Regions from separate parts of the Homo sapiens genome. Here region 1 is linked to region 2. The links are contacts of gene promoters, found by promoter capture Hi-C in blood cells and fetal thymus (Javierre and others, 2016). All regions are on one chromosome and are shown on one strand. The core of a region is centred on a gene start or on the middle of the fragment in contact, and the rest is flanking DNA. Distances in the headings are between cores, read along the strand shown.

What was found. The method cuts DNA at HindIII sites, captures the fragments that hold promoters and counts their contacts. A CHiCAGO score of 5 or more calls a contact.
Region 1: a fragment that was not itself captured here is called in contact with the fragment with the promoter of DEFB118 in region 2 in 2 of 17 cell types (M1 macrophages and endothelial precursors); the score reaches 6.1 in M1 macrophages.

The regions. Positions count from the first base shown.
Region 1 is chr20:31,509,803-31,513,456 of GRCh38, forward strand. It overlaps the pseudogene CD24P3. Among named protein-coding and RNA genes, the nearest start is that of HM13, 2.8 kb to the right of the region's middle. The HindIII fragment of the contact is 2,150 bases long and covers 1,184-3,333 here.
Region 2 is chr20:31,366,770-31,370,101 of GRCh38, forward strand. It overlaps DEFB118 (defensin beta 118), which reads left to right and starts at 1,832. Exons shown (of 2, transcript NM_054112.3): 1 at 1,832-1,939. The coding sequence starts at 1,882. The HindIII fragment of the contact is 1,593 bases long and covers 819-2,411 here.

The DNA of each region.
Region 1 (3,654 bases), core at 1,009-3,508, 140 kb after region 2:
GGGAGGCCGAGGCGGGTGGATCATGAGGTCAGGAGATCAAGACCATCCTGGCTAACACGGTGAAACCCCGTCTCTACTAAAAATACAAAAAAAAAAAAAAATTAGCCGGGCACGGTGGCGGGTGCCTGTAGTCCCAGCTACTTGGGAGGCTGAGGCAGGAGAATGGCATGAACCCGGGAGGCGGAACTTGCAGTGAGCTGAGATCATGCCACTGCACTCCAGCCTGGGCGAAAGAACGAGACTCCATCTCAAAATAAAATATAAGATCCACATCTTGGTTGGGCGTGGTGGCTCACGCCTGTAATCCCAGCACTTTGGAAGGCCGAGACGGGCAGATCACGAGGTCAGGAGTTTGAGACCAGCCTGACCAACATGGTGAAACCCCATCTCTACTAAAAACACAAAAATTAGCCGGGCGTGATGGCGGGTGCCTGTTGTCCCAGCTACTCAGGAGGCTGAGGCAGGAAAATTGCTTGAGCCCGGGACACAGAGGTTGCAGTGAGCCAAGATCACACTACTGCACTCCAGCCTGGGTGACAGAACAAAACGCCATCTCAAAAAAAAAGATAAGATCCACATCTAATTTTATTGACACAGAAAATGTCAAGAACCCCAAATTTGGTTGGTTTGAAGAACATGTGAAGGGTTTGACTAGATGATGAATGTCAATATTAAATCAGCTGAAGTTTCATATACAAAATGAAGAGGAACAGCATTCAAACTTAGTTAAGACACAATTTCCTTGAGTGGCCAGGCATGGTAGTCATGCCTGTAATCCCAGCACTTTGGGAGGCCAAGGTGAGCAGATCGCTTGAGCCCAGGAATTCAAGACCAGCCTGGGCAACATGGTGAAACCCCATCTCTATAAAAAATGGAAAAATTAGCTGGGCATGGTGGTATATGCCTATAGTCCCAGCTACTCGGGAGGCTGAAGTGGGAGGGTCGCTTGAGCCCAGGAGGTCAAGGCTGCAGTGAGCTGTGATCATGCCATTGTGTTCCAGCCTGGGTGACAGAGTGAAAATGTGCCTTGAAATAAAATTTTCCTTTGAATACGGCTTAAGAAATATGGCCACTTAAAACTCTACCTTGAAAATAAATATAGATTTTATCTTATCTAGAGGTAGAGTGGGAAGTTTTCATTTGGTACATTAAATCTATAAGGCCATAAACAGGTAATATAAAAAGCTTTCATAATTCAATTTATATATAACATGAGAAGGAACTTCCAGGTGTTACTATGAATCTTCTATGTATAGTTACAGTCAATATACTTTATATAAGAGATAATTTTAATACCAATATAATCTAGATAACATTTTACTTTGTTATGTTATCATTGTTCTCTTGGGGAATAAATTTTTTCCTCTGAGGCTCTGGATTTGACATTGAATTTTGTGTGTACTAATTGACATGTGCCAGGGCAATGATGGACTGGAATCCACCCCCAAATCAAAGCATCATGGTAAATCTTGCTTATCCTTATAAAGTCAAATGATAGACATTTCCCATCACCTATTTCTATTCAACAAGAGCACCAGATTCAGTTAGCTAATCTGCTTCCAAAGAGTAGAACTGCATTGAGCTCAAATAATTTCAAAATACTGACTTTTTTTTATTTATTTATTTATTTTTTAGATGTGGTCTTGCTATGTTGCCCGGGCTGGTCTCTAACTCCTGGGCTCACACGATCCACCCACCTCGGCCTCCCAGCATGCTGGGATTACAGGCGTGAACCACCATACCCAGCCTATTTCTGCGTATGTTAAACATGCTTTACAATTTTAAAAATGAACTGTTTTGAAGGTAAAATTACAAATCTTGAAATTAAAAAAGCAAATATGTAAAGGAGCAAAAACTATAAATCAAACATTTGAGAAGAGAAAATTGGAGGCTAACTTGTATTAAATTCACAAAAACTTCTATACTTTCTGTAAATACTTTTTTAAAAAACTATAGATCAGAGGCTAGGCGCAGTGGTTCACGCCTGTAATCCTAGCACTTTGGGAGGCCGAGGCGAGTGGATCACTGAGGTCAGGCGTTCGAGACCAGCCTGACCAACATGGAGAAACCCCATCTCTACTGAAAATACAAAATTAACTGGGCGTGGTGACGCATGCCTGTAATCCCAGCTACTCGGGAGGCTGAGGCAGGAGAATCGCTTGAACCAGGGAGGCAGAGGTTGTGGTGAGCCGAGATTGCGCCATTGCACTCCAGCCTGAGCAAAAAGAGCAAAACTCAGTCTCACAACAAACAAAAAAACTATAGATCAGAATAACCACCTTTAGAACACTTTCGGTTATCAGTCAATATTTTTAGATAGAAGCTGGTAGTAAGCCTAAAGTGGGCTTAATTCTGCAGTAAACAACTGCCTCAACACATAGAAATCTTTTTTAAAATAGGCACTCTTGGCCGGGCGCGGTGGCTCATGCCTGTAATCCCAGCACTTTGGGAGGCCGAGGCGGGCGGATCACGAGGTCAGGAGATCGAGACCATCCTGGCTAACACGGTGAAACCCTGACTCTACTAAAAATACCAAAAATTAGCCGAGCGTGGTGGCGGGTGCGTGTAGTCCTAGCTACTCGGGAGGCTGAGGCAGGAGAATGGCGTGAACCCGGAAGCTGGAGGTTGCAGTGAGCCGAAATCGTGCCACTGCACTCCAGCCTGGGTGACATAGCAAGACTCCATCTCAAAAAAAAAAATAAAAAATAAATAAAATAAAATAAAATAGGCACTCTTGCGGGAGGTGGCAGCTCATGCCTATAATTGCAGAACTTTGGGAGGCCGAAGTGGGCAGATTGCTTGAGCCCAGGAGTTTGAGACCAGCCTGGGCAACATGCCGAAACCCCATCTCTACTAAAAACACAAAAAGTTAGCCGGGCGTGGTGGCACACACCTGTGGTCCCAGCTACTGGGGAGGCTGAGGTGGGAGAATCACCCAAGCCCAGAAGGTAGAGGCTGCAGTGAGCTGTGATCATGCCACTGCACTCCAGCCTGGGTGACAGAGTGAGACCCTGTCTCAAAATAATAATAATAATAATAATAATAATAGGCCCTCCTTGAAGTTTTTTGTTTGCACAGTCACACAGTGATGCTTAGATGTTCCAGTATCTAATATAGCCACAGTAGGCTGCAAGCAGTGGCTCATACCTGTAATCCCAACACTTTAGGAGGCTGAGGCAGGAGGATCACTTGAACCTAGGAGTTTGAGACCAGCCTGGCCAACATGGCAAAACCCCATGTCTAAGAAAATATATATTTTTAACTTTTTTAACAATATCAAAAATAAGAATCACATAAATAAACAGATTCTTCAAATTCTGAAAAGAGCCACAAAGCTTTATAAATTGTACAGGGGCATGAACTCGTAAGGTATTATAATTGCCTGGCACATAGTAGGCTCTCAATACATTTGCAAACTCCACACACACCTTACTTTCTTTTGCTTTATTTTTCTCTATTTATCTGCATTAACATGCTATGTAACACATAACTATACATTAACGTTTTACAAATTACAAATTTTTCTTGTTTTTTTTTTTTTTTTTTTTGAGACAGAGTCTCACTCTGTCGCCCAGGCTGGAGTGCAGTGGGCTCACTGCAACCTCCGCCTCCCAGGTTCAAGCCAGTCTCCTGCCTCAGCCTCCCAAGTAGCTG
Region 2 (3,332 bases), core at 582-3,081:
GATCAGGCTCTGTGAATTGGGTTAGGGGTAATCCAGATTTTCCTGCTTTTCTGTAGCAAGAGCGAAAAAAGGTGTTTCTCAAGTTCTTCAGTTTAGAAAGGGTCAGGGATCTCTGCACTTATCAGGACATGTAGAGAAACCATTCATAAAATTAAGAACATAGATTTGTATGCTTAGAAGGAACTAGAAAAGACATTCTTTATTCTATATAGAAATCCATCCTATTTAATCACTTAGACCCTGCTTGAAAAATGAGTTATAGAGTACCCCCTCCCTCTCTGGGAAACAATTCCATAGTAAGAGAGTTCTGCCTGTTAGAACATACTAATCTAAAATTAATTTGGAGGCCAGGTGCAGTGGCCCATGCCTGTAATTCCAGCACTTTGGGAGGCCAAGGAGGGAGGACCACTTGAACCCAGGAGTTTGAGACTAGCCTGGGCAACATAGTAAGACCTGTCTCTCCCAAAAAAATTTTTTTAAATATTCGGGCATGGTGGTGAATACCTGGGCAGTCCCAGCTACTCAGGAGGCTGAGGTGGGAGGATTGCTTGAGCTCAGGAGCTTGAGGCTGCAATGAGCTGTGATCGCACCACTGCACCCTAGCCTGGGCTACAGAGCGAGATCCTGTCTCAAAAAAATAAAAACATAAAACAAAATTAATTTGAAAATAGCCCACCACCATGCTACGCTTTCCACATGGTTCCATCCAGAAGAGAAGTCTCCTCAATCACATGGCAACCCTGCTAATTCCCATCAATTATTCTCACAGTGAAAGTTATCAATTCCAGAAGAGAAAAATCAGCAACCTCCTCTGTAAAAGCTTTACAGAGACTTTTAGAGCCGAGTAAACAAGAGGGAGCAAAAGTTGAAACACGATGAAAATGCAACTAAAGCAATGCAGGACCTAGGCTGACTCTGGGGGTGACATCGAGGTTCCACATCCCAAAGGCAAGTCTAAATGTTGGGGTCTTCATGGACAGCTCCCAGACCTCTGATGACCCTCATGGTGCCGTTGTCAAAGGTAACATCCCAAATTATTGTAGATCTGTCTTCAGCAGGGATTTTTTTTTTTTTTTTTGAGACAGAGTCTCACTCTGTTGCCCAGGCTGGAGTGCAGTGGTGCGATCTCAGCTCACTGCAACTTCCACCTCCTGGGTTTAAGCGATTCTCCTGACTCAGCCTCCTGAGTAGCTTGGATTACAGGCACCCACCACCACACCCAGCTAGGGAATTTTTTTTTTAATGACATTGGGTAGCATCCCCCTTTGAGTCTTATAAATGATCTCCCTCAAACTTCTGCAGCAAGTGACTTCTTGGGCAAGTCATTTTCCCTGTTGGGCACATATGTAAGAGAGGGATTTGGCTTATAGATTGACATGTGTTCATTATCGTTTATTTCCACAAACCTTCACTGAGAGCATGCTTCGTGCCTTGGGGGCTCAAAAATGAAAGACACGTTCCCTACTCTCAGGAATTTCACAGGCTGGTGCGGGGAGACACACAGATAAGTAGACCATTCAAAAGTAGGTTTATGCTAGAGTGAGAGGGGCTGTGAAGAAGGGCTGAGCCCTAATGAGAGATCGGGGAAAGCTAGGGAAGATGTCCCAGTGTGAATCTTCCCTCTCCATTGCTCCAAACACCTCCTCAAAACCTGTGACTTGTAACCCTCTGCATGCCCTCCCAGTGCCTGGATCAAATGCTCAGCTTATGTGCCACACACTAGACTGATGTTATGCATGGATAAGCTCTTAGATATCCGGCTGGTTCTGTGCCCATCCCTCTGCCCCCACTGCAGAGAGGCCAATAAAACTCTTGTTCAGACTCACACTGCACACAGTATTCTGAACTCCTGGATCTACCACCTCCTGCTTCCCAAGGACCATGAAACTCCTGCTGCTGGCTCTTCCTATGCTTGTGCTCCTACCCCAAGTGATCCCAGGTAATCAGAGGTCAGGGAAGATACAAAAATAGAGGTATAGTGGGTTCTGGCTCATGAAAATTCCAATGTGTCACGGTACTCCCCAACATGGGCAGCTCCACAGTTCCCACACTGGGACTATGCTCCTGGCTGGGGTAAAACCTGGGAGTAGAGCAAGTTATCCTCAATAGACAGGGGCAGTCCCACCATCCAGAGTTGTCCTTGGTTCTATATTCCAAGTTGCCGCCTAAGAAACTAGGGGAAAGCTCGGCTCACATCTGTTCTCTTTCCAGATTGTGCCAGCTTTTGAAAATGATTCCTGCAGCCCACTTTGCTATGTTTTCTTGGCCCTAAAAGTCCTGCTATAGCTATAATGAGGTTCTTTTTGTTTTCTAATATTCTAGAATTTGGTGAACAAGTCAGAAAACACTGGTAGAGCTGTTACACGGAAGACAGAACTGGCTTTTCTTCTTCCTTCTACAGTGAAAATCTAAGCTTTTCATAATCACTGCTTTCTTAAGTATATCTAAAGGCATGACCAGAACTTTGAAATCACTGGTGAAGAGAGCCTGTTTCTCCTTTATGTTTTTCAAGGTGCATTTCAATGTATGATCGAACTTACATAAAAATGAATCTAAATATTTCTGTTTTATAACGAAGTAAGCACACTCCCTGCATGGCTATGCAGCACTCTTGTGTTTTTTTTTTTTTTTTTTTTTGAAGATGGAATCTCAATCTGTCACCCAGGCTGGAGTGCAGTGGCGCAATCTCAGCTCACTGCAACCTCTGCCTCCTGGGTTCAAGCAATTCTCCTGCCTCAGCCTCCCAAGCAGCTGGGATTACAGGCATGCACCATCATGTCCGACTAATTTTTGTATTTTTAGTAGAGATGGGGTTTCACCATGTTGGCAAGGCTGGTCTCAAACTCTTGACCTCGGGTGATCCATCCGCCTCGGTCTCCCAAAGTGCTGGGATTACAGGCATGAGCCACCGCACCCGGCCCTATGCAGCACTCTTCTTTCACTTATTATTTTGTGGCCATCTTTCCATGTCACCATCTAAAGATCTGCCTTATTGTTTGTAAAGTTGTATAGTTCTGCTGTAGGATAAGCCATATAAAGTCATATATAGCCATTTGAGACATTTCTTAATTTTCGAACAAGACATCAATGAATATGCTTGTACAAACATTAATATATTTACATATATGGATATGGGCTTAAATAGGATAGATTCCTAGAGGGCAAATAACCAAGTTAAATGTAAGTCTGGTGGGGGTGGGCAAGAAAATTAAAAATATATATTTGTTCCATTAATTCCTCTATTCCTCTGCCCTCATTGCAGAGAGGCCAATAACTCTTGTTCAGACTCCCACTGCACACAGCGTTCTGAACGCCTGGGTCTACCCTGGCGT